2 separate regions of the Homo sapiens genome follow, and region 2 is linked to region 1. Evidence: promoter capture Hi-C in human tissues and cell types (Jung and others, 2019). All regions are on one chromosome and are shown on one strand. Each heading gives the region's core, a stretch centred on a gene start or on the middle of the fragment in contact. The rest is flanking DNA. Distances are from core to core; before and after follow the strand shown. Region 1 overlaps GNB1 (G protein subunit beta 1). Region 2 holds the start of TMEM240 (transmembrane protein 240).

Region 1 (4,889 bases), core at 1,596-4,095:
GAAACCCTGTCTCTACTAAAAATACAAAAATCAGCTGGGCATGGTGGCAGGTGCCTGTAACCCCAGCTACTCTGGAGGCTGAGGCAGGAGAATTGTTTGAACCCAGGAGGTGGAGGTTGCAGTGAGCCGAGATCATGTCACTGCACTCCAGCCTGGGTGACAGGGCAAGACTCCGTCTCAAAAAAAAAAAAAGGACATAAACTTACCAGTTTTCAAAATGAGGCATAGTTCAAGATTATTCTACAAAGGTAAAGGAAAGCCTTTAAGAGCAGGTTACTGTGGCTCACATCTATAATCCCAACATTTTGGGAGGCTAAGGCAGGAGGATCACTTGAACCCAGGAGTTGGAGACCAGCCTGTCTCTACAAACAATAAAAAAAATTAGCTGGGCACGGTGGCATGTGCCCGTGGTCCTAGCTACTTGTGAGACTGAGAGAAGAAGATCGTATGAGCCCAGGAGGTCCAGGCTGCAGTGAACCATGATCATACCATCACATTCCACACTCCAGCCTGGGTGACACAGCAAAACCCTGTCCCAAAAAAAAAAAAAAAAGAAAAAGAAAAAAAAACCTTTCAAGAAAAGATAAGGATGTGAGAGATTTAGTAGAAAGTAAGGCAGTAAATAAGTGATAGGGATTTGCAAAGATAGCTAATATGCATGTTCCACACCCTGAATTAATATTCTTCTGGAACCATGGAGAAAAAAAGAAAAATCTCAGTAAACTGTCATCTTATAACATTTGTTAACCTTGCCATAAAAGAAATTTTTACAAAGCAAGGCCATCAGCAACAGAAATAGCTAATCCTTGCACTGAGCTCTGTTATCAGTGCCCACATCAGGACTCATTTAATCCTCACAATGACCCCATGAAGGAGGCTCTAGGAGCCTGTTTCACAGATAAGGACAGACACAGAAGTCCTAACACTGCAGGTGGCCTAAATTAAGGCAGGCTCAGGGAGGACAGAAAGCTCCTGTGGAGTGGAAGGGTAGAAGTTGAACTGATCTTGATTTTCAGTGCGAATAAAAGTCCTAACACTGCAAATCAGCCAGTGAGGCAACAGAGCTGAGCTGGGCTCTAACTCAGACAGTGCCAATCCTTTTGAAAACTACTGAATTTCTCTCACTCCCTAGATTTTAGGAATTATTTTAAAATTCCTATGAGAAATTTTCTGAAACCTATTGTAGACTCTTTTGACATGCTCATCTAATTATAAAGTGTCCGGACTTTTTTTTTTTTTTTTTGACCGAGTTTCACTCTTGTTGCCCAGGCTGCAGTACAATGGCACAATCTCGGCTCACCGCAACCTCCGCCTCCCAGGTTCAAGCGATTCTCTTGCCTCTGCCTCCCGAGTAGCTGAGATTACAGGCATGTGCCACCATGCCCGACTAATTTTTTTTTTTTTTTTGAGATGGAGTTTCCTTCTTGTTGCCCAGGCTGGAGTGCAATGGCACGATCTCGGCTCACTGCAACCTCAGCCTCCCGAGTAGCTGGAATTACAGGCATGCATCACCATGCCTGGGTAATTTTTTGTATTTTTAGTAGAGATGGGGTTTCTCCATGTTGGCCAGGCTGATCCACCCTCCTCGGCCTCCCAAAGTGCTGGAATTACAGGCGTGAGCCACCGCGTCTGGGCTAATTTTGTATTTTCAGTAGAGACAGGGTTTCTCCATGTTGGTCAGGCTGGTCTTGAACTCCCAACCTCAGGTGATCCGCTCACCTTGGCCTCCCAAAGTGTTGGGTTTACAGGCATGAGCCACCACACCCAGCCCAGAATTTTTTAAGCTTTATTAACTACAACACTCGGCAGAAGTTGAGTGTCTGTAATCAACATAGGGAATATATTTTCTAAGTGCTACAGGACTGCACACAGACATGCATGGAGACATGATTACCCACCAGTAAACAAGAATACATTCCACTGATGCCCTTAGTATTCCCATTCTTTTTTTTTTTTTGAGAGACGGAGTCTTGCTCTGTCGCCCAGGCTGGAGTGCAGTGGCGCGATCTCCACTCACTGCGAGGTCTGCCTCCCGGGTTCACACCATTCTCCTGCCTCAGCCTCCCAAGTAGCTGGGACTACAGGTGCCTGCCACCACGCCCGGCTAATTTTTTTGTATTTTTAGCAGAGACAGGGTTTCACTGTGTTAGCCAGGTTGGTCTCGATCTCCTGACATCGTGATCTGCCCGCCTGGGCCTCCCAAAGTGCTGGGATTACAGGCATGAGCCACCGTGCCCGGCCAGTATTCCAATTCTAACAGGTGAATGAATTAATACATAAAGTCCTCTCTTGATATAATGCATTAGTAAGTTTGGAGCAATGAATTATTAAATCATAAAAATATTTTATCTATGGCAAAATAGGTTCAACAGAATAAACTTAAAAATTAAGCTGGGCACGGTGGCTCACACCTGTAATCCCAGCACTTTGGGAGGCGGAGGCGGGCGGATCACTTGAGGTCAGCAGTTTGAGACCAGCCTGGCCAACATGGTGAAACCCCATCTCTACTAAAACTACAAAAATTAGCCAGGCATGGTGGCGGGCACCTGTAATCTCAGCTACTTGGGAGGCTGAGGCAGGAGAATCACTTGAACCCGGGAGGCAGAAGTTGCAGTGAGCCAGGACAGCGCCATTGCACTCCAGCCTGGGCAACAGGAAGGAAACTCCATCTCAAAAAAAAAAGAAAGAAAAAAGGAATTACCTTAGATAATCTTAATCTGGTCTTTTAAATCAGTAAGCTTTTAAAAAATGGGTCTTTCTCAGAATTCTAATTTAAGAAGACATAAATAAGGAAATACTTCCACTTAATCTTTTTTTTTTTTTTTTTTTTTGTGAAACGGAGTCTCGCTCAGTCACCCAGGCTGGAGTGCAGTAGCACGATCTCGGCTCACTGCAAGCTCCGCCTCCCGGGTTCACGCCATTCTCCTGCCTCAGCCTCCCAAGTAGCTGGGACTACAGGCGCCCGCCACCACACCCAGCTAATTTTTTTGGTATTTTTAGTAGCAATGGGGTTTCACCGTGTTAGCCAGGATGGTCTCAATCTCCTGACCTCGTGATCCGCCCACGTCGGCCTCCCAAAGTGCTGGGATTACAGGCGTGAGCCACCGTGCCCGGCCCACTTAATCTTAAAAAAAAAAAAAAGCAAGCAAGCAACATTGCTCTATAAAACAGAAAGCTTTTCTACCACTGAAAGCCAGGAGTAATTTCCACTGATTACCATGGCACCCAATGGTAGGCACTGACACAAGAACAAGAGGCTAAAAGGTTTAAAAAAGCTTTCAGCATTCCGGCAGGGCACGGTGGCTCACGCCTGTAATCCTAGAACTTTGGGAGGCTCAGACAGGCAGATCACCGGAGGTCAGGAGTTCAAGACCAGCCTGGCCAACATGGTGAAACCCCATCTCTACTAAAATAAAATTTTAAAAAATTATCCGGGCATGACGGCGGGTGCCTGTAATCCCAGCTACTCGGGAGGCTGAGACTGGAGAATCACTTGAACCCGTGAGATGGTGGTTGCAGTGAGCCGAGATTGCGCCACTGCACTCCAGACTGGGTGGCTGAGTGGGACTCTGTCTCACAAAAAAAGCTTTCAGCATTCCACTAATCCACTAGCAAACTCAAATGTCTATAGATTGTCTCTATTTCTTCAATCAAAGTTCTAGAACAAAATGCATAGCTTTGAAATAGGTGGTGCTCTGTCCCTCTCCCAGAGCAGCTGATGTGATGTTGCATTTCTCTCTCTTCATACACACTCACTCCCATATACGTTGGCCCTGCTTTTTCTTTCAGTAATGTTGAACACTGCAGTTTCATAAATTTCTGATAGTTTCCATTTTAAATTTATTTTATCTCCTCATTCTGTGTTCCTAAACCAAACACTTAACTGAATTGCCTACTTCATAATCTCTCCAACCACTCTTAACAAATGCAAACCTGAAATCAGAATGTAAACCAGTTTAAAATTTTTTTTATTTTTATTTTTTGAGACGGAGTCTCGCTGTGTCGCCCAGGCTGGAGTGCAGTGGCCGATCTTGGCTCACTGCAAGCTCCCCCTCCCGGGTTCCTGCCATTCTCCTGCCTCAGCCTCCTGAGTAGCTGGGATTACAGGTGCCCAGCACCACGCCCAGCTAATTTTTTGTAGAGAAGTAATTTTAGTAGAGAAGGGGTTTCACCGTGTTAGCCAGGGTGGTCTCGATCTCCTGACCTCATGATCCGCCTGACTCGGCCTCCCAAAGTGCTGGGATTACAGGTGTGAGCCACCACGCCCGGTCAAACCAGTTTAAAATTTTATAAAAATTTTTGTTCCATGTCTTGTGAGACTTACACTAAATAGGGGTTTCAAAATAACATGGCCTGCCATATGGTCAAGCCAGATTTAAAAATTGAGAATATCTATTACCAATCCACTAATGCTAAAGCCAAAGTCACAGACAGTAAGAATGTAATCCAATTTAGAGACCAACATGAGCCAAATCTTTCGGGCAGAGAAAAACAACGACAAAACTATAATAAATGCCAACACTGCACTTCTAAAATAATACCAATGTTATTCATTAAAGTATTAGCTACAAAAAGTCAACTGATGGTAGATGAAGTCTAGAGATGCCCTGAAGACCTTTTTCATCCTTTTATCAAAGCTGTTTTTAGCTACAAAGCTACAACTTTTCCAGTGGACCAACACACACATAAAATAAACCAAAAGACCCAGAAATTTTTAGCAAAGCAAAGGGAAGAGAACAAAGCTCTGGTACTTTTGCAGGATAGTACAACATCTCCTTTGAGAAATAAATTAACTTTTCAAATTCTGTTTCTCAAGTGATCAACATAAATCTACCTAGATGATACTAGCTTTGAAATCAAAGTCATTGGGCATCAAAAGGATTTACAGA
Region 2 (5,129 bases), core at 1,262-3,761, 340 kb before region 1:
GACATCTTGACATGTCCCTGAGCACACGGCACTGTATATTGTGACATACATGTACTTTGCATACACATATATGTTGTCAATATACAAGGGCACTCTGTACGCTGAACGTACATATCCTGTATGTAGAGATGTGAACAGAGCATAGATACATGGACACACACGCAGCAATACCGTCTACAGCAGGCTGTGGCTCTGCTTCCCACACACGGCTGCCTTCAGCGTGCACCCACCCGAGTCCACGCGTGCTCTGGACACGGCATGAGCCGCCCTACATGCCCTGTGCAAATACTCTAAGGCGCCTCTGCCTGCCCCGCGGAGCCCTCAGTGTGCTGCCACAGGCGGATGCACACGGCCCCAGCCCACGTGCGTGGAGGCCGCACCTTTCTGATGCTCTGGAGCTCGGGTCTGGGCCCAGCCTCCGGGAGGCAGTGGAGCCGACCTCAGGCCTTTGCTCAGCAGTCGGACCTGCCAGCCAGGGACACGGGGCTCTCTGGTAGCATGTGGCCACCCCACAAGCTCTTACCCCCTACCCTGTGCCCAGCACACGTGAGGGTCACAGACACCCCGATCTCTGCCTTCTCTAACACCCGTGTTCTTCATCGACACGCCTGCTGCACCCATAGGCATGTCACACGCTTAGCAACACATGCAGCTGTCCTGAACACACATGCCCCACACCCACACGTATGCACAGAGACCCCCGGAGCAGGAGGCAGCAGAGATGACGAACACGGGTTCTGGGCTGGTGCCCCCTTTGTCCTTCACTAGCTGTGTGACCTTGGAAAAGCCTGTCCTCTAAATCCTCCGTCCACTTCCTCATCTGTTCAGCAGGGTTAACAGCGGCCACTGCGTGAGGGTGTCCTGAGGGGTGGAAGTGCATGCGTGCGTGCGCGGGGGCTGTGTGTACGCACATGTATATGCACAGACGCCACACACATGCGCGTCTCATGAGAAGATGTTTATTTCGTACATGGACGTACAAACATGCATGGCCAAGAGGATCCCATCGCTACACGTGCACAGAGGGGGTCACACGGTGGGTGCGGGGGGTCTGGGCGCTCCCCTCAATCTGAATGACCTTGAGGAAGCTCCACCTCCCCGCTGCCCCCCCAGCCCATCCCTCAGCTCCTCTCCAGCCCGGGGGTGGTGCCCAGTGCCCCTCAAGGCAGGCCCTTCCCGCCTTGACCTGCATTCCCCTGCCCAGGGACTCAGTGCAGGGCCCAGCCCTGTGCCAGCAGGCGCTTCCTGCCCCAGCCCTGATGAGGCTGGCTTGGGTCTCCACTGTGGACATCACACTGGGCTGCGGCTTTCCGGCCTCCAGGCTGGACCAGGAGGCCCCGTGACCCATTCCGCCATCACCCTGGAGGCCTCTAGGAACGGCGTCCTAAAGCCATGCGCCCCCAGGAGACCCCCGCCCACCTTGAGACAGCTCCTCCCCCTGCGCACCTGGCAGCCCTCAAGGGTGGAAGGCGGCTCGCGGCCTGCGTGGGGCTGGTTCCCCCGCGCCCCGAGTGGGCCCCGCCACACATGTGCGCTCACGCGTGTCGAGCCGGCGCCGGTTGTGGACTCACCGGCCACAGTTGCAGTGGCAGACGCGGTCCTCGCCCCGCAGGTGCGGGAGGATGTAGTTGTGGAATCGGTCCAGCAGCGCGTTCATGTCCATCAAGCACGCGATGGCCTGGAAGAGCTCATGACCGGTCAGCGCCAAGGAGCGGGCGGGACGAAGCGGGGCTGGGGGTGGGGAGCGCAGGCCGGGGTCGGGGCAGCGCAAGCGGGGAGCGAGAGCGCAGGCCGGGGTGAGGGGAGCGTAGGCCTTGGTAGGGGGAGCGCAGCGGGTATGGGGATCGCAGGCTGGGGAGGGGAGCGCAGGCCGGGGTGGGGGGAGCGCAGGCCCGGGAGGGGACCGCGGGCCGGGGAGGGGGAAGCGCAGGCCGGGGTGGGGGGAGCGTAGGCCGGAGAGAGGAGCGTAGGGAGTGTGGGGATCGCAGGTTGGGGAGGGGAGCGGAGGCCGGGGTGGGGGAGCGCAGGCCGGGGAGGGGAGCGCAGGCCGGGGAGGGGAGCGCAGGCCGGGGAGGGGAGCGCAGGCCGCACGGGCGGTAAACAAGGCGCGGGAGGTGGGCCAGGCGGCGCGCGCGGGCGGGGAGCAGGGGGCGCGCGCGGGAAGCCCCTCCGCTCACCATCACGACCGACGCCCCCAGAATCATGAAGATCATGGTGTTCGCGCTCATGGACATCGGGCGGGGCCGGGCCGGGCCGGAGCGCCGCCCCCCGGCCCCGGCGCCCCCCCGGCCCCGGCCCGATGCTGAGCCCCCGCCGCCTCCGCAGAGGTCAGCGCTTCCCTGGATCGTCCGCCGCCGCTCGCTGCAACCCCGGCACCGGCCGGGGGGAGGAGGCGCGGGGGGGGGGGCGCCGGGGAGGGACGCGGGGCCTTTCTGGGGTCTCTCGGCCCGGCCCGCCGCGCTCCGCTCCGCCCTCGGGTCCTCCCTGCGATGCGCTCGGCTCGGCTCGACTCGGCTCCGCTCGGCTCCGGCCCCCTCCCTGCCTCCTCCTCCCTCCTCCCCCCTCCCTCCCCGCCGCCTTCCTCCGCCTCTCGGGAGGGACCGCGCAGACCGCAGGCCGCCCCGTGCCAGCGCCGGGAGGAGACCGCCATCCCCCGGACGCCGGCCGGGACCCCTCCCCGGGAGCCTCGGCTTCGCGTCCCGCCCCAGTCTGGTCAGACCCAGCCCCGGTGGCCTGTCCGGTGACCCTGGACGCCAGTCCTCCGGTCCTGGAGGGGCGCCGAGGCCCTTCCCGCCCCACTGCTCCGCCCTACGTCCTGGACTCCCAGGTCGCCGGGTGCGGGACTGCCCCAGTCCGCTCGGCACGCACGTGCCTCCAGGGTGGGGTCCGCAAGGTCGCGACAGCCCCACGGCCGTGGGGGCCACAGGTCAGGGACGGGATGACCCCTGGAATCCTCAACGGAGGGATGTGGCACAGGAGCCGAGGGCAGGGCCGCCCCGCACAGGCTTCCCTTAGGGCGGGGACGAGGGGGTCAGCCCAGGCCCATGGGTCGGGACGCCGGCCATTCAGAGGCCCAGTGGCCACCACTCCGCTGTGGCTGTCCCTGGCTCGGGGTCCTGAGGCCAAACTCTCATCCACGACCGGTGACCATGTCTCAGGCCCGGGAGCCGACCCCCGGCCTCAGCAGGAAGTCAGCGGGAAGCTATGCCTGGGACCCAGCCTGGGTCGTGGCGCCATCCAGGCTCACTGCAGCCTCCACTCCTGGGCTCAGGCGATCCTCCCGGCTCAGCCTCCCCCGTAGCTGGCCTTGGGGGATCCCCGCCCGGGGGGGTTCCACATGGAGAGGGGACGCCGCTCCACCACAGGCAGCAGTTGTGGCAGGAGCAGGCGGCTTCCGCTTCAGGCAGCACAGGCACGGGTAGGCCCAGACCCTGTCAGCACCACCAGGTCTGAGCTACTCCTCCCAAGCAGTGGTCGGAGGTCACTGAGGGCGGCAGGGCTAGGCCTCTGCCACCTCCTCAGGGGCGAGGGTCGGGCCAGGAATTCAGGACCAGGCACAATGACAGCAGCATCTGTTTATTGACAATTCCAGGTCATTCCTAACACGCCGCAGCAGGGCTCTGTACAGTCCGGCCCGGTGGGGAGGAGGGAGGGAAGGCAGGCACACGAAGACACAGGTATGTCGGGAAGTGCACACAAACCGTTGTCTTTCCTTTTTGGTTAAAGAAGAAAAACTTTGTAATCAATATCCTGCTCATAAGTAAAAGTGGAAAAGAAGAAACTTGATTGCTTTCATCTGGCGTTTTGGCATCTCCTCTCCCATTTCATATGCACAGTTTATTTGGGTAATGCTACCGTCACCAGCAGAACACCTGTAAGTAAAAACAAATGTCAGGAAGGAAAAAGTATGAACAACAGGAAGCTCCAGAGGCGGCTCCATGCGGGCGCTGGGCTCAGTAGAAGCAGACGGTGTGCAGAAAGGTGCGGCCACTCTTCTCCTCGAACTCCTGCAGCAGCTCGTCGATCTCGTTCTCCATGTCTTCCGTGTGCTGGATCTGCAAGGACAGGACCGTGGTGAGGGCCTTGCCCACTCCTGCCTGTCTGCTCCCCCTAACACCTGGATCGCCAGGGAAACGCCAGGCCTGAGCCAGCAGAAACCAGCGCAGCAGGCAGGCCCTCACCCCACCGCTGCTGCCTCACAAGGACGGCCGGAGGCTGCAGGGGGAGAGCGTCCCGGGCAGCCCCCACCTCCCCACCGACCCTCACAGGACCTGAAGCTGGGAGGAGCTGGGAGGAGCCTGGAGCTGGATTCTGAGAGGGGCCCAGCACGGAGACCTGGCGGCCAGGGCTCAGACCCACACATGCACAGCGGGGCCGACCAACCCTCACCGCCAGCGCTTCCACACCACCAACAAGCGAGCGGGGGCAGCCTGGTCATCGGAGCATCCTGGCCTCCATCCACCAGAGCCCCTGGCAGAGGGCCGCTGCCCCAGAGTGAGCAGGCCCGGCTCCTAGGCACACCTGCCCTGGCACCGGCAGCTCGTTACTCGCCATCTCCACTGTCCCCTGGTCCCCAGCCTTGGCCAGCACCCAGTGCCTCTAAGCAAGGAGCGGCCTGTCTGTGACTCAGCTCTGGCCAACGTGACCCAAGCAGAAATCGTGCAATAACTTCTGGGACGACATTTTCTTATGACCTTTTCTCCTGCCAGGCGATCATGAAGACCGTCCCTGGCGCTTCAGCAGCCACACTGGACCGTGAGGCACGTGGGGACCAGAAGCCATGCTGGGTGGGCCAGGCGGAGCGCAGGAGCCTCTGCGGCCACACAGCAGCTTCTCCCAGCGCCCGCCCGCCTGGCTCCCGGGCTTTCCAAACACACCATCTTCTTTCTTGGTGAAGCTGTTCTGTTTTTCTGTCTTTCACAGACATTCATCAAATCACAGAGGCAGAGGCAGAGGCAGAGGCGGGACGGTGCGTGGGGCTCTCCTCAGGCAGGTCCTTTCGTCACAGCCCAGCACCTCCACGCCGCAGCAGGGTGGCTACAGAAGCCTTGGGGTGCCCCGGCCCCTCTGTGCAAGGGAGACATGCAGGGCCCACTGGGGAAGGCAGGTGTGCAGAAGGCCAAGTCCAG

Evidence for each region. Contacts are between HindIII fragments. The study calls those that stand out against the background at their distance.
Region 2: a contact is called between the fragment with the promoter of TMEM240 here and a fragment that was not itself captured in region 1, in 2 of the 25 tissues and cell types used here (dorsolateral prefrontal cortex and heart right ventricle).

The regions. Positions count from the first base shown.
Region 1 is chr1:1,882,742-1,887,630 of GRCh38, forward strand. The region is part of intron 1 of GNB1 (G protein subunit beta 1); the gene reads right to left. Among named protein-coding and RNA genes, the nearest start is that of GNB1, 5.9 kb to the right of the region's middle. The HindIII fragment of the contact is 4,669 bases long and covers 512-4,889 here.
Region 2 is chr1:1,538,113-1,543,241 of GRCh38, forward strand. It overlaps TMEM240 (transmembrane protein 240), which reads right to left and starts at 2,512. Exons shown (of 4, transcript NM_001114748.2): 1 at 2,178-2,512; 2 at 1,572-1,678. The coding sequence starts at 2,234. SSU72 (SSU72 homolog, RNA polymerase II CTD phosphatase) reads right to left here. Exons shown (of 5, transcript NM_014188.3): 5 at 3,561-4,055. The coding sequence ends at 3,954. RefSeq lists a silencer at 1,097-1,391. The HindIII fragment of the contact is 20,414 bases long and covers 1-5,129 here.